Linked DNA regions of Homo sapiens: regions 1, 2, 3, 4, 5 and 6 are each linked to region 7. Evidence: promoter capture Hi-C in 16 types of primary human blood cells and fetal thymus (Javierre and others, 2016). All regions are on one chromosome and are shown on one strand. The core of a region is centred on a gene start or on the middle of the fragment in contact, and the rest is flanking DNA. Distances in the headings are between cores, read along the strand shown. Region 1 overlaps LOC105369905 (a long non-coding RNA gene). Region 2 overlaps LOC105369905 (a long non-coding RNA gene). Region 3 overlaps LOC105369905 (a long non-coding RNA gene). Region 4 has its middle 120 kb from the start of LINC02404. Region 5 has its middle 190 kb from the start of LINC02404. Region 6 has its middle 59 kb from the start of LINC02397. Region 7 holds the start of BTG1 (BTG anti-proliferation factor 1).

Region 1 (2,700 bases), core at 122-2,621, 440 kb after region 7:
AGGGCATATGTGAAATTATAGCTGAAATGCACATTATCTAAAAGGGAGCATTCTTTTATACATTACTAAGATGAATTTCAGATTAAATAAATCACACCTATGATTTTTTTTTTTTTTTTTTTTTGAGATGGAGTCTCGCTCTGTTGCCCAGGCTGGAGTACAGTGGCGTGATCTTAGCTCACTACAACATTCACCTTCCGGGTTCAAGTGATTCTCCCGCCTCAGCCTCCTGAGTAGCTGGGACTACAGGCGCGTGCCACCACATCTGGCTAATTTTTTGTATTTTTAGTAGAGACGGGGTTTCACCGTGTTAGCCAGGATGGTCTCGATCTCCTGACCTCGTGATCCGTCCGCCTCGGCCTCCCAAAGTGCTGGGATTACAGGCATGAGCCACTGCACCTGGCCAACTCCTATGATTCTGTTCACTTGTTCATTCTGTTTATTTGTCCCTCTTCCTACAATGACTTTCCCTGCATACACACACATACATACAAACACACACACACACATATATAAATGAAACCATTCAGCAAATATTTATTGAGGTCTGCTACAAGGTAGCGCTGTGTTTATAGACACTGAGGGTACAGTTGTAAGGGAAAAAAGGTACTAACATTTCCCTAAAGAATCTTACAATTTAATAAGAGAAATCATTTAATTTCTATTTAATTTCTATTAATTGTGTAATTTCCATTATTCTTTATCAATCGCTTAATTTAACGATTATAGGAATAAATCCATAAGTAAAATTGTAATCCATCCTCTATAAGCCAAGCAGGCAGTGTTTGGACTATACGATCAGTTGTCTTAACCTTGTCAGGTGGAAGGGGAAAGCCTTCTAGCCCTGGTGGCAGGTCCCAGGGATGTTCATTTTAACTGGTCCATGTATAAACCCAAAATGCAAAAGCAGGTCATATAGGTCTAGGTGATGTTTCCAGCCAGGAGTCATGGAGGGAATGGGACTTTAAGGGATTGTTTATTCTTCTGGAAAATCTCCAAGAATAGCTAAAGGACACAAGGCAAAGTTACAGTATGCCAAAAACTGCCTATCCAAGTGGCAGCATCACATTCCCTAGCCTGCTGCCTTTCCAGGCCACTGCCCAATGGTGGCCACTACACACCTACAGGAGATGGTGTGTAGGAACCTCCATGACTCCTTTCATGCAGGACAGCAGAGGTTGGGTGGCCAAGAGCATTAAGACGCCTGGACTCTACAAGATGAGGACCACGGAAGAATAGATGGGTCAGACAAGAGTATGACCCACAGAGGAAAATTTGAAAACCATCACTCAAATATAATGTTCTCTCTTGCTGTGAGTCTCCATTTTCTATTTTTTTCCTTATATTTTTGGCACATTATTTTAGGTGCGGTGGGTCTATTTTGGTTTCCCCAAAGCAATACTTTAGCAATAGAACATCTGTCACCTTGAGAGCCTGAGAGGAATCTCAATATTCTTCATCATTTTGTAACCAAATCCTAATGTATCAGACATTGACCCTGTTAGTAAGTATCTAAAATGTGCAGGGTACACGAAATTAAAAAGATTATAACCCCCAGTACCACACACGCACACAGATCTTGTTCTTCCTGTGCCATGTGACAGATCTTATCACAGATATGTCCCAAAAGGATACACACATCAATTATCTCATTTGATTTCTCTTTACTGTTTTTTTCTTTGTGTCATTTTAATCAATTTTTTGTAATTACGGACAATGTTCTTATCTAACAAGCAGTATTTAAAATATTTGTTTTTGGGAAACAACATTGATATTGAATTTTCTACTCTCAAGAACTTTAAAAATCAAGTGAGTGACAGACAGTATGTAAGTAACACAGAGGGCTCAGCCATTGCACAACTATGAGACCCGGCCACACATTTAACCTCTCTGAGCCTCAATTTCCTCATTTATAAATAGGAGCAATAATGCATGGCTCACAGGACTGTGTAAGAACTAAATTAGATCATGTATGTAAAGCAAATCGTACAATGTAGGTGGCTACAGCATGTTAGTCCCTCCCCCTTTTCCCTCAGCTTACTGAGGTCTCTGGAGGATACAGCAAATAAACACAAATGGCATGGTGAATTCTGTGGGCTAAAAATGTGATCTTTTCAAGGCATAGGGTGTTTTAGTTTCTGAAACAACTGTTGTACATCTAAGAATAGCTCTGTTTATGACTGTGTGATTTTATCCATCTGGGTTCACACAACCTCAATGTATCAGTTAGTCTTTCACATTAGGTTTAAATTTTATTTTCCCAAAGAAAGTCTTCTCCAGGCACTTCAGTTCACAGTGATCTCTCCCTTTCTTAAATCCTCCTCCAACCTCCAAATGCATTAAGCAAAACCTCACCCTTGAGAGAGAGAGAGATTTTCCTTAATCAATTTGTCCACCTCTAAAGCAAGGATTGTAACCAATGCCCCTTTGTGTTTTTGGAACTCAACACAGTACCTTGCATTCAAGCAGGTCCTAAAGATATGCTTGTTGGTGGATTGGTTGGTTGATAGATGGACAAGGACTTAACTCCTTTGTTATAACTGTGTAACAGTCTTGCATTATCTGGAGTTCATACAGGGGAGGAGGACTTTCTCAAGGAATTCAACTGCTAATTCCCCAACAGCCCCCAAATGGTACCACTTGGAGTAGCTGAGGAGGAATCACTCAGGATCTATGATTTGAACCACTCTGAGATCTACT
Region 2 (2,700 bases), core at 93-2,592, 480 kb after region 7:
TCTGAATGTTTGTGTCCCCTCAAAATTCCTATGCTGAAACCCAATCCCTAGTGTGATAGTATTAGGAGGTAGATAGTATTGGGAGGTGATAAAGTCATGAGGGTGGAGACCTCATGAATGGGATTAGTGCTTTTATCAGACTGTAAAGAGACCAGAGTTCTCCTCTTCCACCACATGTGGATTCAGCAAGAAGATGCTGTTTATGAATCATGAAATGGGCCCTCACTAGACCTCAAATCTGCCAGCACTTTGATCTTGGACTTCCCAGCCTCCAGAACTGTGAGACATAAACTTTTATGCCATAGCCACCCAGTCTATGGCATTTTGTTGTATTAATAGCAGCCCAGATGAACTGGTACTACCTAGATATTCTGACCTCCTTCCAGAAAGTCACCAGATGACTAGTGCACGGTGCTTGCTCTTATACTGCGTTACCCTGTGCTATTGTGAAACAACTGTCCTTGTCCTTTATAAAATGTAGGTCTGTAAAAGGGATCACAACAGCCACTGCTATTCGCAAATTATCGAGACCACCCAAATTAATAAGTCATATTAATCACAGACTCACCCAATATGATGACAAAGGGAATCTTAAAAACCATCTAGTTAAACTCTCCATATTTGACTGATAAGGAAACCAACGCCAAAGAATAAATAACATGCCCAAGGTCACCTAGGAAATAGGCTGGAGAGCTAGGGCTGAAACACCAGCTGCCATCCTTCTGTACTGCTAATAATTAGGTAACTTAGGTAACTATCAATTAGATCTTTGAGGAACAATATGTGTGGCAGTTTAGAAAAGAGACCCCACAGCCAGAGACCCTCTGATTAGAATCTGCTCCACAACACATACCAGCTGTCACTTAAACTTTCTGGACCTTAGTTTCTTGTCTGTAAAATGGGAATAATAATCATATCAACTCAGAGAGTTAAATGAGATAACATGGCTGAAGCACTTCGAGTCATACCTAACAGAGTAAGTATTCAATGAAAGGAAGATGGCATGCTTATCTTCACTACTCATGCTACAGACACTAGGTAGATACTATTGTAAAAGCTATGTTATGGTCAAAATGCTAGAAATGTTGATTTGCCAGTCCCAGTGCAGGATTGTGCAAGAGAATTTCACAGGCCACAGAGGGCTGCCTACCGTGGCCACCTTTGAGGTTACTACTCCAATCTAGAACACCTAAAGATAGAAATTTGCAAAATCCTGGGAAATGCCTCATGTTCAAAACAGAGTAGTCTACTATGCAAGCCAATATCTCTCTTCTATGGATATTGGTCATTAAAACCTTTCTAACTTAATATCTATGGACTATTAAATCTAAATATTTTTAACAGCATTAAGCACCCTGGATTGCTGTGTATAAATCTACTCCATTTTTACCAGTTAAAACGTTCCGCACTAGACACATTTTTGCTAGTACATTAGAACCACACAGTTAGTACCTTTTTTTTCCCCTGAGAGAAAGAGTCTACATTTCTGACACTGCTAGAGGAAACAAAGCTACTTTGTTATTAAACTACCATTGTTTTTAGTTCCTTTGTCCACAAAACCATAATGAGACACATACAGAGTATCCACATTTAGATCTGGTGTGCTAACAGAATGCTTTCTTTCGGGGAAAAAAAGTATATATAAAGAAAATTACTGTACAAATAAACATGTCCACCTGTTGACAGTGCTGGTAACCACTGGGCAATATACTTTGTCTCTCTGAGACTTTGTCACAGAAACCACTATATCTAAGGTGACTTCTAAAGAAGGTACGCATTTCTCATGACCTTCTCAGATGGACAAATCTGCATTGAATGAGTTAGAAAGACAAGAATAATTTGCTCAGAAATCATAGACGTTATAAGTGAAGTTACTACGCTTTTTAATTCAGAAATTTGGCACAAGAGACCAAATAAGCATTTAGAGAATTTTATAGAAAGAAAAATCTCTAGCAGTGATTAGGTTCAGCTAAGTGGAAGCTCAGTTTCTCAGTATAAAGGTAGCAAAGCTGGGAAACCCCAATATATATTCAACGGCTAAATCATTCCTGACTCTTGACCATGAATCCCACAACTCCCTGTTTTGTTTTTACTTGCATGAATCACTGGTGCAATGCCTCATTAATTTGCAAAAGTAAGGATTTTTTTTAAGTGACATACTCTATACTTTTAAATTCTATATACACATTACATATTAGGTGAAAAGATTAGAGGTTACAAAACCATTCCTGATTTGATTGCTTTAGGTAAAAATAAATTTAAAAAATATAAAAAGTAAAATTCAGGAAGAAAATTATTAATAAACAGAAATAAATTCAATTATTTCTTCCCTCTTTTGTTTGGTAAAATAGTAGATTGGGCCTCCCTTCTCTCTGAGTCCTTAGAATATACACATGCTCATACATCTACAAGAGTTTTTCAAATAGAGTAGTCCCCTGTTACTCACAGGGGATACGTACCAAGACCCCCAGTGGAGTCTAAAACCACAAATAGTAGTGAACCCTATATATACTAGGTTTTTTTTTTCTGTACATACATACCTGTGATGAAGTTAATTTACAAATTAGGTACAGTAAGAGATTAACAATAACAACTAATAATAAAATAGAGCAATATACTCTAACAAAAGTTACGTGAATGTGGTCTCTTTCTCTTCTCTCAAAATATTTTATTCTACTATACTCACTTATTTTAGGACTC
Region 3 (2,700 bases), core at 186-2,685, 460 kb after region 7:
CAGCAGGAGAGAGAAAAAGAGAGCAAAGGGGGAGAAGAGAAGTGCAACACTTTAAACCCATCAGATCTCATGAGAACTCACTCACTATCATGAGAACAGCATGGGGCAAACTGCCCACATGATTTAATCACCTCCCACTGATATAGGAGTTAAGAAGGAATTACTTAGGCAGATAGCAAGGGCATGGGAGTCCTTGATAAGGCTTTTTTTTTTTTTTGTTAATGAAAAGCAGCCCCAAATCATTTTCTAACAAAGAGCAGCCTGCAAGCTGGGAGCTTGCATGGATGAATGCCGGCAGAAACTAAGGACTAGACATTTTCAAAATGGTGGCTCCATCTTCCCTTCTCTGTCAGCCACGTGTATTATAACAAGCAGACAAGATGGTGCTGATCAACTAGAAAGCCCATTTGCATAAGAAGATTAGGGTGGGGTGACCAGCCTTCCCCACACGCTATGTAAAGGAAATACCTGATCTTACCAATCTGTGAGCCCTACGTAAATCAGACACCACGTCCTCAAACTGGACTATAAAACTTGGTGCTTTTGCCACCAGCTGGTCCTCTCTGCTCAGAGACCACTTCCTCTGTAGAGGAAGCTGTTTCTCTTTCTCTTCTCTTCTACCTATTAAACCTTCACTCCTAAACTCCTCGTGTGTGTCCATGTCCTAAATTTTCCTGGCACGTGATGATGAACCCCAGGTTTATACCCCAGACAGCATAGCCGCTTCACCACCAGTTCCCTCTCTTGACACATGGGGATTGCAATTTGAGATAAAATTTGAGTAGGGACACAGAGCCAAACATATCTCCCTCCTTCCCTGACCATTTATGTAGGGCTTCCTCTTTATTATCCATCATCATTTGGTCTCTAGTTGACACCATTTTTTCCAATCTACAAGTACATACTTATGTATGTGTTTACCTACTGATAGTCTGTTTTCCTTACTAGACTGGAAGCTCCCTGAGGGCAGAATCTTCATGGATATCTCTGATTTCTCTGGTCAGAGGACCACTGCTTTTGTCACATTATGTCCCCATGTGTGTACTGCAGATGGAAGGTTAGAGAAACCAGGGCCCACCATGCCAACACTCCAAGATGTTAATCAACTGTTTCAAAGCTGCCCTGGGTCATTTGCAAAATCTAAAAACTGACTCTTTGACTCAGGTTTGCCCAATATATAAAGCCACATTGTCTATTGTTCTATAGTTACAAGTCTTAGCCAGTTTAAGGTTAGGCAATTTATAAAGAAGAAATGGGAATTACTTCATGTGAGAAAACAATTTATTGCCTTACATAGGATTTTTTCAGCCTGAGTCACTGGAATGTTTTCATGTACATTTGCATCATCGTCATTCTCCTTACAGACCCAATCATATAACAACTAAAATGTATAAAGAGCCTATTATGTGGTAAACACTGGGGCTCTCTCAGGGAATAAGACCAACTAGACCTCATCTTCACTGAATTTATCGTCCAGCAAGTAATAAACATAAAGAGTGGTGAGTGAGAAGAACACAGTGTGACAGGAGCACATTGCAGGACAATTGAACATATTTTAGGAGTTGGGGAAGATTGGCACCAGAGGATGGGTAAGACACAAATAAAGAGGGTAGAAAAGTGATTCAGACAACAGGAGGCTGGTGAAGGGCCAAGGAATAAGAAAGGACTTATAAATTCTAGCATCTAAAAAAGTCCAAGAAGCTGGAATGTAAAATATGGAGAAGGAAAAGATAAGGAGTCAGGTTGTAGGAATAGCCAAGGGCTAGATCTTGTGTAGCATAGCCAGGAATTTGGACTTTGCCCTTTTAAGCTGGGGCATAACATGTCCCACCTTCTGTTCCCTAACCTTTTACCTATAATTTCCTATATTTACCTATAAATTGCTTAAAATATTTTACCTATAAATTGCTTAAAATACTTGCTAAATATATGTTACATATTATTAGATGTCTATCAAAGAATGCAAAGCAATGGAAAAAAACTGAGACAGTATTGACATCAGGGGAAAAAAATTGTAGATGATGATGTCATGAGTATGCTAGATGGCTCGGCTATGAGCCATGGTAAACACTAAAAAGGATTTAATTAAATATGCTATATTTGAAAGATTTGTAGACAGTCAATAGATAGTATCTAAAATTAAAAACTCAAATATTTGTAGAAACACATTACTGAGAAATAAAAAATACATATTCGAACAAAAATTGAAAGATGTGCAGTTACTTCTGAGTCAATGAGCAAAGGGAGATGGAATGGAGTAAGCTGAGGCTGGGGATTGTTTTTGATTATAATTTTTGTATATGTATTATTTTGTTATTTTTACTATTGAATATGTGGGGTTTTGACAGAAGCATAAATTGAATGTGTGTGCATGCATGGACTCACACACCCACACACCCTGCAAATCTAAACTTAGAAAGGAACAGTGGGAGGCAGCCATGGCACCCCCTACTGGCCTTCTCATGGATGGTCTATTGATGGGTCTCACTACCCTGTCCAGACCTGCCCCCATTGCTGAACCAGTCATGTCTCCACAGGAAAACAGCAGCCTCTGACCTTCCATTTCTTAGAGGTTTCATGAACTGGACTGCCAAGCAACATTTGGATTTTCAGTACTAGGGACAACTCATAGGTACCTGCTTAGATTCTGAGTTGGCTCCATCTAATGAGATCCTGAGGACACATCAGGGCCCAAGAGGA
Region 4 (2,700 bases), core at 175-2,674, 390 kb before region 7:
CTACCAAGGCAGTAAGAACTTGAGCAATCAAGAACTCAGAGAGAATGGAAACAAAAAGAAGTAAATATAATATTTAGCTCTGCTTTTCACCATAAAAAATTTGTAAGTTCTAATATGATAAACAAGAATCTAAAAATCTGAGCAGGACTTTCAAATGTCTTAAGAGATTAGGGTAATGGCAGTTGAAGTTTAATATGTGCCAAGGAGTAAGGACGCTGGCATAAAACTCTGGGTTTCCGTTGGGGTCTCTGAAGGACTATGCCCATGAATAATGGTGAACCTGGACAGACCAAGTCTTCACAAATACTGAAAACTAATTTGAATCAGCTTAATCTCGAATGGAATAATCTGATCTTTCTCAAGCTAAATTACCAGATGAAGAAAACAAATTATTTTTACAGAACGATAGCATCATTCAAGACTTCAATCTGCCACTATAATTTTTCAAACATTATTTCTGGCTGCACACACACGGGCACCCACACACTTAGTTTCTGTGTGTGTGTTTATGTGGCAAACCGAGAGAAAACCAGCAGTAAAAACACACCCATAAGATATCCACAACTGTAGTTATCAAACATGGAATTACATAATTATGGTTAATATGTGTTCAAGAAATACAAGACAAGGTAAAAAAATTCATCAGAGAAATGTAAGCCATTTTTAAAAAGCAAATAGAAATTTTGTAACTGATTAACACAGTAACCAAATTACAACTTTAATGTGTGTGTTAAAAGTACACAAACCAAAGCAAAAAGATTAGATTAAAAATGAAGAAAAGAGAAAAAAATATATAGAATATATTATTTTCTTAGTCTGTTTAAGCTGCTATAACAAAATACCAGAGACTAGGTAATTTGTAACTACCCGGAAATTTATTTCTCACAGTTCTGGAGACTAGTAAGTCCAAGATCAAGGTGCCAACATCTGGTGTCTGGTGAGGGTCCAATCTGCTTCCAAGATGGCATCTTGAACACTGTGTCCTCCAGAAGGGAGAACACTGTGTCCTTGCAAGGCAGAAGGTTAAGGGCCAAAAGGAACAAACTCCCTCCATCAAGCTCCTTTATAAGGGCACCTAATCCCATTCATGGGCAGAGCCTTAAAACTCAATCACCTCCAAGGATTATACCTCTCAATACTATTAAATTGGAAACTAAGCTTCATAAATTTTTGGAGGGTACAATAACATTCAAATTGTAGCAACAGTCAAATGATCTAACACACATATTAAACTCCCAAAAAAGAGTAAAGAGAGATATTGGAACAAAGGAAGTTTAGAAAAATGTAGTGGTCAAGATTTTTCCCCAATCAACAAAAGATATCAAGTCACAATTTCAAGAAGGGATATAAATCTCAAGTGAAATAATCATAAGGAATGACACATTTAGACACACTATAGTCATACTGCTAAAAACCAAAGACAAAGAGAACATCTTAAAAGCAGGCAGAGAGTGCCAGGAATGTAACTCTTCCATAGGATCAATAAAATAAAAACCAGAAGTCAATGGAATGAGATCTTCAAAGTACTGGGGGAAAACACCAATCTGGAATTCTGTATCTGGTAAATATTCATATTTTATAAGTAAAGGTAAAATAGAACACTTTCATAGAAATAAAAGCTAAAATAATTAATCATTAGTTCCACACTAGAGGAAATACCAAAAGACAAAAGAAAAACAATCCCCAGTTAGAAGCTTATATATACAGAAAAAAAGGAGAGCAATGATTTTGGTACCAGGAAGTACAACTGTAATGAAACAAGTATCTAACAATCTGGAAGTGGCTTTGGAATTGAGCAATGGGTAGAGGCTGGAAGAATTTTGAGGGGTATGGTAGAAAAAGCCTAGATTTTGGAGAAGGCTCAAAGGAAATGAAGAATATAGTAGAGAAAACTGTTATTATCTTAGAGAATACATATATTCCCATGAGCACAGTGTTCATGGTATAGACATGAATATTAAAGACAGGTGCTCAGAAACAAATTATGAACATGTTGAAAACTGGAGGAAAGGTAATCTTTATTATATAGTGGCATATCTTGTCTAAGTTGTGTCTTAATGTTGCTTGGAAAGCAGAAGTTGTAAGCCATTGTTTACAACTTACATGCTTATATATTTAGCTGAAAATACTTTCAAACAAAACTTTGAAGGTGTGACCTGATTTCTTGTTGCCATTTAGAATAAAATGTGAGAAGAAAAAGATAAATTGAAGAAGAGACCATTAAGCACAAAGAAACCAGCACTTGATGATTCAAAAAAATCACATCTATTCAGATTCCAAAACGTGCTAATGTTATTCACTGTTAGAGAAACTGTGCTCTGAAGACAAGGAAAAGACGAGGCTGAAAGATTTTTGCTGAAGAAATTAAGTGTGTGACTCTTGGGGTCCCCTCAACCATCTCAGCAGAAGCCAGAAACAGAAATGGAGTTATCTAGGAAAGACCTGTAGAGGATCCTCTTGTCTAATGGTGTGAAACCTTATGGTATATGTGGGAGACCGACAATGTTGTTGAGAAAATTATATAAGCAGAAACACTGCCAACTTAAACTAAAAGGGATTTCACAAAGTGAAAGAAGACTATCAGACTTCCAAAATTTTACAGTCAGGAAATGGACTGATAGAGCTACTCAACTGCAAACATGTGCTACACTTTAATGGTAAGAAGAACTCAGAGGTCAGAGGGGCAGAAACAGAGGCAGA
Region 5 (2,700 bases), core at 17-2,516, 460 kb before region 7:
TCATCAGAGAAATGTAAATCAAAACCGCAATGAGATACATCTCACAGCAGTCAGAATGGCCATTATTAAAAGTCAAAAAACAATAGATGCTGGTGAGGTTGTGGATAAAAGGGAATGCTTATACCCTGTTGTGGGAGTGCAAATTAGTTCAGTCACTGTGAAAAGCAGTCTGGAGATTTCTGAAAGAACTTTTGACAGAGCTACCATTTGACCCAGCAATTCCATTACTGGGTATATCCCCAAAAGAAAACAAATTATTCTACCAAAAAGGCGCATGCACTTGTATGTTCATTGCTGCATTATTTAAAATAGCAAAGATATGGAGATTGGATAAAGAAAATGTGTGAGATATATATAATATATATCATGTGCTATGTAATATATATAATATATTATATATAATGCATATAATGATATATAATGTGATATATAATATATATAATGTGATATATAATATATATAATGTATATAATGATATATATGATAGATCTCTCATGTCTTTATCCAATCTGTCATTGATGGGCTCTTGGGTTGATTCCATATCTTTGCTACCATATATATATATATATATATATATATATATATATATATATATACACACACACACACACACACACACACACACACACACACATACATATATACACCATGATATATCACCACCGTTTTTTTATATATGTATATACATACACACAAAATTCTCAGGACGCAGCATTTTTTAGCAATAAAATATTTTTAAGGTATGACCACTTTTTAAGACATAATATACATAACTTTTATATGCACTGGGGAAACAAAACATTTGTGTGGCTCACTTTATTGAGACGTTTGCTTTATTGTGGTGCTCTGGAATCCAACTTCCAATATCTCTGAGGTATTGCCTGTATGGTCTCAATTAATCCTTACAACTCTTCCTTGAGGTAGGTACCTACTCTTAACGTCCCACTTTTACAGATGAACAAAGTAAAACTTGGAAAGATAAAGTAATAGTTAATATTGTAAGAATAATTTTGTTCAGGCAGCATAGGATTGACCTGCATGTTCCCTGAGGGTACTGTCTTTTAGGTAAGACTATTGAGCTTCCTGTGAGGTTCACTTCAATTTAGCCATAGATAATGCATATTTATTGGGTGCATGGTAATCTAAATAATCCTTTACATATGTAGAAAAGTTACTAATCACAAATGACTTTCCAGCACTAAAAAACAGATAGGTAGGTGAAATTCTTCCCAACCTATAGGGTCCCATTTAAAGAGGTTAAGTGAGTTATCAGAGAGCTATCAGTGCTGCAGGTATAATTTGAATCTAAGTCTTTTATATTTTTCTACTAAACCTTATTTCTCTCTCTCTTCTCTCTCTCTCTCTGTGTGTGTGTGTGTGCGTGTGTATATGTGTTTCCTTTTATGTATTCATCATCACTTTACATGAGTCAGAGGGCATGGGACATTGTTGTTTGGTCTCCTTAGCAATCTTTTCAAATGCTTTCAAGGTAGATCCTGTCTCTGACATGAAAACTAAATCTACAAACGCTCCACATGGTGATTTCTATTGCTAATGTGCCTTTTAGACTAACTAAATGCCCAACCAAAGCAAATATGTGAGTCCATTTCATCTCATCTCAGCAGTATCTTTAACTTTACAATATTAATCTATGTATAACTCCTCTATATAATTATATTAATGTTTTAATTAAATAAGAAATTATCAAAAGGCTTTACTGGAACTCTGATGAAATATATAAAGAGCTATTGATCCAAATCCAATTTAATATAGAAGAAAGAAGAAAGAAGCAACATAGGATAACTAATGGATAGTTGCAATTTGAATAAATTGAATTGTTTTAAAGATGGGGAAGCATTATTGAGAATTAATGGCAAAATCAAATTATAGAAAAATTTAAAATATGTATGTTAGATCACTTAAATCCATCCATAATGAGCAGATTTTAATTAAGCACTTACTATGCATACACCAAGTAATAAGTTAAGCACTTTCTATCTCCAAGCCTGGCTACAGAATTGCAGGGAAAATGGGAACAGAGGGAGTATACTAGACAACACAGAAGGCAGAGGAGAGGAGCCAGTGTTACGGAGCCATGTGCTGTTTGACTCAAAACATATGCCTCCCCTCACCTCTAACCAGGCAAGCATAGGAGACAGAGTCCCTGGAGTAAACTGAAATGCAACAATCTGAGAGGTAAGAAAAAAAGTTAAAACAAGAGAAAACAGTATTTTGGATTATAGTAGTCTCCAATTATCCACAGGGTAATGTTCCAAGACCCCCAGTGGATACCAAACCCAATATATTCTATGTACTATTTTTTTTCTATACATACATACCTAGGATAAATTTTAACTTATGAGTTAGGCACAATAAGATATTAACAGTAACTAATAACATAGAACAATTATAACAATATAATGTAATAAAGGTTATATGAATGTGGTTTGTCTGTCTCTCTCTCTCAAATACCTTATTCTACTGTACTTACCCTTCTTCTTGTTGTGATTTGTCAATCTGATAATGAGATGGCTCCTGAGTGAGTGTCTGGCCAGTAGTGTACACAGGGTAGATACATAGGACAAAGGAATGATTCTTGTCCAGAGGTGGGATGGAGCAGGAGGGAGAATGACAGTGCAGGAATGCAATATAAAACATGACTTATTTCTGGAATTTACAATTTAATATTTTAGGGTGACA
Region 6 (2,700 bases), core at 25-2,524, 380 kb after region 7:
AGCCAAACAACAATGAAGCACACTATGGTCAAACTGCTGAAAACCCAGTATAAAGATAAAATCTTAGGTTCAACGAGAGAACAGGTGATGTTACATAGAGGGAACAACCATGGGGAGGTTCACTGACTTTTCATCAAAAGCAAAGTAAGCCAGACTGCAATGGAGCAACAGCTTTGACGTGCTGAAGAAGGGAAATTGTCAATCTGGAGTTTTATAACCAGAAAAGCTGCCCTTTATTTGTGGGGATGAGACAGAGATGTTCTCTGATTATCAAGGCTGAGATAGTTTATTGCCAGAAGACCCATACTACAGAGGATGTTAAACGGGGACTTTAGATTGTGCAAAGATGGTGGAAGATAAAGGATCAGATCTAGAAGAAACACTGATGACACCGGAGATCGTAAATGTGAATGTTTTCTTTTTCTTTTTTCTCAACTTATTTGGTGCAAGTGAACTGCTAAAAGCAAAAGTGATGACAAAATTTGGTAGAAACAGGAAAATGTATGCAGAAGTAAAATGTATGCAGATCATGGCACCCAAGGCCAGAGAAGATGGTTGGAGGCATATTGTAGGATTGTTGCCTTTTTTGTGAGGTAGTGTTATGTTACTTCAGACTAGACAGTGGAGGGGTGGAATGTATATTATGATCCTACAGCAACCACTAGGGAAATAAAACAAAGGGTTAGGACAAAAAACACGAAAATAATAAACTGTAATAACTATAAGCTTTTTTTTTACCATGATCCTCAAGAAATATTTTATTTATTTAGTTAGTTATTGTTTGATTGATTGATTGGAGACAGAGTCTTGCTCTGTCACCCAGGCTGGACTTAGGTGATGTGATCATAGATCACTGTAGCCTTGGACTCCAGGGCTCAAGAAATCCTCCCGCCACAACCTCTCCTAGTAGCTGGCACTGGAGGCATAAGCCATCGTGCTTGCTCAGCTGATTTTTAATTGTTCTGTAGGGACAGGGTCTCATTACACTGCCCAGGCTGGTCTTGAACTCCTGGCCTCAAGCAACTCTCCCGCCTTGGCCTCCCAAAATGTTGGCATTATACACATGACCCATTATGCCCAGCCAGAAATATTTTATATTGCTTCCAAGTACACAAGTGTTACACAACTCTCTCATACAAACAAACATATCATACAGAAAACATTATCCCAAGCAATATTTATGATTACTAAGTGCAATGAATATTTTCTATTCTATTTCAGTTTTTAACATCAATTATGACCTATTGGATCAATTTTTACTACCAAACTCCTGCACTGGATCACAACTTGCAATTGGAAAAACACTTTTGTGTAGCCTCTGCTATGTCAGGTCATTTACTTCTTAATTTCTTTAAATTTTTATCTTGTCACTTGATTTTCACCAAGAAAAATCTCATGCATAAGATAAGCTATCCCCATTTTAGAAATGAGTAAACAGACTTGGAGAATTTAACTAACATTCTTAAGACCACAGGCTAGTAAGTAGAAAAGGGAGGATTTCAGTGTAGATATAAATATAAGAAATCCAACTGCAGAGCTCTTAAGAACTCTACCACACTGACTCCACCTTGATCACTAAATTTGGGCATCTGGGTATCGTGAATGGTTGCACGTACTCATACACATTTTTCTTGGGATAAAAGACTAGTTTTCATCTGTAACCTGAAAAAAGCAACTGAAGAACAACAATACTACACTGTTCTGCCCTAGTTTACTGCCCTAGTTTGTTTTTTCATGCCATACAACCAAGATCTGTTCGCATTATTTGAGCAGACACTTTTAAAAGCTCCAGTCACTTAACTATGATAGAACTCTAACCTGCAAAGCTTCACATCTTATACTTTCCTTTGTATATGCTATTGGTGAGTGGGTGGCAATGGAAATCTACAAACATATAAAAGAGAAACTTTAATCTACTGAGGCTATTTTTCAGCTCTAAGATTCTGTAAACCTATAATTGTAATCAAGGGCCCAGCCACCTGCTATTCTATAATGAAGCCACAAGATAGGCAGTTGTCTAAATTGCTCAGAAAGATATACAAAGACAGGGATTCCTTTGTTTCTTTGTTAGTCTTCCCTGGAGTTTTGCAAGACCTAAAGTTAATTAGAGTCTCTTAGTGCAATTTAACCATATCCCTCTTAGTTTATTGTCTATCATAGAGATAGAATAATTTAGCTTTCCTTAGGATAATCTTTTTTCACATACATATATACTTAAAGGTAACTATTTATTTATTCATGATTTAGCTTTTTCCTCTCTAGACTAAATAAATATAATCTCCTTAATTTTCCCCCACTGGTTTGATTTTCTTCATAATTATTTTTGTAGTGCTCCCTAGGAAACCCACTTTAATTTCTGCATGTGCATTTTAAAGGGTGGATTCCCATATTGATCACATTACTCTACTAAGGGCCTGACCAGTACCAAGTATGCCTGGATGATCTGCAGCTCTTTGCTGGCTGCGCTTTCTAACAGAAAGCTGAGTTCAGGTTGAGCATCCCTAATCTGAAAATTCGAAATCTGAAATGCTCCAAAATCTGAAGCTGTTTGAGGGTCAACATGATGCCACAAGTAGAAAATTCCACATCTAACCTCATGTCAAAACTTTGTTTTGTGCATAATAGTATCAAAAAATATTGTATGAAATTACCTTCAGGTTATGTGTATAAGGTGTGTAATAAATTTCATGTTCAGACTTG
Region 7 (2,700 bases), core at 166-2,665:
GTGATGTTTATAATGTTCTATAGAAGAAAAGAAGAACAGAGAAACAACGCTTAGGATCGTTAGCTCCCACTGCGGATTCCTCCTACCCCAGGCTCCTTTGAGGAGCGAAAATGAAAACTATCAACTTTTTAAAATGTCCAGGATTGCATCCGTTGTTGTGCATGTGCGGGGATGGAAAAAGCGGGCAGGGTTTTAGAAATAACACAGTAGTACCGGACAAAACAATCTCCAGGAACCAACCGGTTGAGCCGCCAAAACAGGAATCAGGCGCGCAGCCTCGGCCAGTCGGGAAGCCACTGGCACCTATGGCCAGGCGAGAAACTGTTTACTTTCTCCACCCCACCCCAGATGCACACAATGGAGTTGATGGCTTTGGAGATGAGAAGCGCCACCGGACTGTTAACCCCGAAGGGAAGAAAAACAAGCAACCCTAAACCACGCTCTGGGCAGGGCTGTTAATTGTGCCGGTGACAAATCCGATGATTAATGGGCAGGGGCAGGAGGCGCGGGGAGACGGCACGTCCGTTCTGAGCTGGCTCCGGGGCAGCGGCGCAGCTTCCCACCCCGGGGCTGGGCCGCCGACCACGCAACGGTTGGAGGGGGCTGAGGAAAGGGGACGTCGAACCCACCCCAGCCCCACGGCTCCTTTGTCCCCAAATCCGCCGACGGTCCTCGGACCGCAGCTCCCGCCTCGGTGGGCTTAAGTTTCTTTGTTGTGCGTGTTGTCTTCTCCTCTCCGTTTTGCCAGCTGGGGGGAAGGGGGCGCCCTCCGTCCAGCCCCTAAAGCCTCGCGGGGAACCGCTGTTAGCGGCCACCCAGCGCAACCACACCGGTCCCGCGGCGGGGCCCAAGCGCGACCGGCCCCGGGGCGCTGCCGAGGTTCCCGCAGCCCCGACGGCCGGACTCTGACCCAGGGATGTGGGGCCCGCGTCCCTCCGACGCCCTCGCCCTGCTCACCTGCCAGCAGCTCCTGCAGGCTCTGGCTGAAGGTCTGCAGCTGTCGCTCGCTCGTGAGCCCCTTGGTGCGGAGAAACTTGGAGATGAAGGACACGGCGGCGGCGATCTCGCCTATCATGGTGGCGGCCCGGGTGTAGAAGGGATGCATGGGGGCGGCGTGCGGGGGCGGCCCGGGGCGGCTGGGGCTCGGCGGCGCGGCCCCGACGGCGGAGCAGCCACCCCGGGCTTCCTCACCGGGCGGAAGGCTGAGAGGAAGAGAGGGCGTGAGGGGCGGACGACTACTTTTGTCTTTCTTTCTTTAGACTAAAAAAGTTATTTTCGAGACAGGAGGCGGCAGGAGAGAGGAAGAGACGAGCGATGGCGGCCTGGTCACATCGCTCGGACCTCCCCAGCTGCCTCCGCCTCCAGCTCCGCAGCATTCGAAGATCTCAATAGCTGCATTTCCAGCTCCGAGAGGCGAAGAGATGCAAGCGCCGTGCAGCACCCTTTATAGTGCCACGAAAAGGAAGTGGCGTAGCTGGAGCGTGATGGCCGACTCCAGCCAATCCGAATATCGCACCATTGTGACGCAAGCCGGTTCGGAGCCGAAAGGGGCGGGAAAAGAGTTCAGGAGGCGGGTCCAGAGATAGGGAAGAGAGGGAGGAGCTGACGTAATCCGCTTGTAAACAAATAAACCCGGAGTGGCGGCTGGAGACCCAGTTGCTTGTGTCGAGGGAGGGAGGGAGGGAACAGAGGGTGCGCGTGTGAAAGCTCCGCCCCCAGCCCTAGCTCCTCCTTCCCGCTTCAGCAGGTCCAGGCTCTGCGCCAGTGCATCCTTCTCCAAGAGTGCGCTGCCTGGGCCCGCTTGCCCTGGAGTGTAAGTGCTGGGTAAATAAGAACCGCCTGGCGCAGGCTGTGTCTACTCTTCACGCCGCCTTCTCAGATCGGGCTGCATGTCCCCACTCCGTGTTTACATCTCGTTCCCGCTCCGGGTCTCGGTGACTGGCTCCTCAAGCCGGAGACGCGTGTGGTGCGGCGCGATGCGGGCGCCAGCGCTGTGTGTGCTGGCGGTGCGCTGCCTTAGTGCGGGGGAAAGTGGAGGGAACGGTCCTGCGGGGCGTTCTGTCCAAGAAAAAGGACTGCAGCCTCGGGGAGCCAGGGTCCCCTCGCAGACGAGCTGCCAACGCCGCGGAGCCATTTCTGTTCCACCCTAGGGGAGGAGTAGGGGGATATCTTTTAAAAGTTTAATTGCAAAATAAGTAGGTTAGTAAGGCCATTTGTGGTTGCTGTTTCAGTAACTTCAGCAGTCAACGGAGAGAAGAGTGGAAACCTTACTGGATGCGGACAGGAGAGCCAGTTACTGAAAGCAGATATAACGCGGATCCTGTAAAGAGTGGTGTGTATCCAAAAAAAAAAAATCTGTACAATGTATTTTAAAACTTGTGTGCACAAAACTGAAGATTTTCTTTTTTACCTAGTCCAAATGCCGTCCTAGCCTGAGTCCTGCTCTTTATAAAAATAAAATAAAAAGAATTTGAAGCTTGTGAAAGTATTAAGTGTAGACATTCAAGTTTATTTGAAACCCTACCAAAAAAAAAAAAAAACAACCTTAAAAACCAGTGTAACAGGAAGGCGGGAGCCTGCTAAAACGATTAGGCCTAAGACAGGGTTAACCCCAACTCCATTAAGGAGAAGGGGGAAAAGAAAAAAAGAAAGATGAAGGGAGGCAGGCAGATGGAGAAAGCAAACAGGAGGCAGAAGTTG

What was found. The method cuts DNA at HindIII sites, captures the fragments that hold promoters and counts their contacts. A CHiCAGO score of 5 or more calls a contact.
Region 1: a fragment that was not itself captured here is called in contact with the fragment with the promoter of BTG1 in region 7 in 11 of 17 cell types (total B cells, naive B cells, non-activated CD4 T cells and 8 more); the score reaches 18.1 in total B cells.
Region 2: a fragment that was not itself captured here is called in contact with the fragment with the promoter of BTG1 in region 7 in 1 of 17 cell types (activated CD4 T cells); the score reaches 5.1 in activated CD4 T cells.
Region 3: a fragment that was not itself captured here is called in contact with the fragment with the promoter of BTG1 in region 7 in 2 of 17 cell types (M0 macrophages and activated CD4 T cells); the score reaches 6.8 in M0 macrophages.
Region 4: a contact is called between a fragment that was not itself captured here and the fragment with the promoter of BTG1 in region 7, in 1 of 17 cell types (activated CD4 T cells). The highest score is 5.5, in activated CD4 T cells.
Region 5: a fragment that was not itself captured here is called in contact with the fragment with the promoter of BTG1 in region 7 in 1 of 17 cell types (naive CD8 T cells); the score reaches 5.2 in naive CD8 T cells.
Region 6: a contact is called between a fragment that was not itself captured here and the fragment with the promoter of BTG1 in region 7, in 1 of 17 cell types (M2 macrophages). The highest score is 5.1, in M2 macrophages.

Annotation. Positions count from the first base shown.
Region 1 is chr12:92,579,718-92,582,417 of GRCh38, forward strand. The region is part of intron 1 of LOC105369905 (a long non-coding RNA gene); the gene reads left to right. Among named protein-coding and RNA genes, the nearest start is that of LINC02397, 110 kb to the left of the region's middle. The HindIII fragment of the contact is 3,147 bases long and covers 1-2,700 here.
Region 2 is chr12:92,626,606-92,629,305 of GRCh38, forward strand. All of the region lies in intron 1 of LOC105369905 (a long non-coding RNA gene), which reads left to right. The region is part of intron 1 of LOC124902983 (a long non-coding RNA gene); the gene reads right to left. Among named protein-coding and RNA genes, the nearest start is that of PLEKHG7, 75 kb to the right of the region's middle. The HindIII fragment of the contact is 2,759 bases long and covers 1-2,700 here.
Region 3 is chr12:92,601,385-92,604,084 of GRCh38, forward strand. The region is part of intron 1 of LOC105369905 (a long non-coding RNA gene); the gene reads left to right. All of the region lies in intron 1 of LOC124902983 (a long non-coding RNA gene), which reads right to left. Among named protein-coding and RNA genes, the nearest start is that of PLEKHG7, 100 kb to the right of the region's middle. The HindIII fragment of the contact is 4,997 bases long and covers 1-2,700 here.
Region 4 is chr12:91,758,180-91,760,879 of GRCh38, forward strand. No RefSeq gene overlaps it. Among named protein-coding and RNA genes, the nearest start is that of LINC02404, 120 kb to the right of the region's middle. The HindIII fragment of the contact is 536 bases long and covers 1,157-1,692 here.
Region 5 is chr12:91,684,691-91,687,390 of GRCh38, forward strand. No RefSeq gene overlaps it. Among named protein-coding and RNA genes, the nearest start is that of LINC02404, 190 kb to the right of the region's middle. The HindIII fragment of the contact is 4,269 bases long and covers 1-2,700 here.
Region 6 is chr12:92,524,349-92,527,048 of GRCh38, forward strand. No RefSeq gene overlaps it. Among named protein-coding and RNA genes, the nearest start is that of LINC02397, 59 kb to the left of the region's middle. The HindIII fragment of the contact is 1,100 bases long and covers 725-1,824 here.
Region 7 is chr12:92,144,431-92,147,130 of GRCh38, forward strand. BTG1 (BTG anti-proliferation factor 1) reads right to left here and starts at 1,416. Exons shown (of 2, transcript NM_001731.3): 1 at 958-1,416; 2 at 1-17. The coding sequence starts at 1,105. BTG1-DT (BTG1 divergent transcript) reads left to right here and starts at 1,655. Exons shown (of 3, transcript NR_135036.1): 1 at 1,655-1,813; 2 at 2,232-2,332. RefSeq lists enhancers at 1-57, 78-127, 388-437, 397-933, 1,768-2,067 and a silencer at 858-1,177. The HindIII fragment of the contact is 11,880 bases long and covers 1-2,474 here.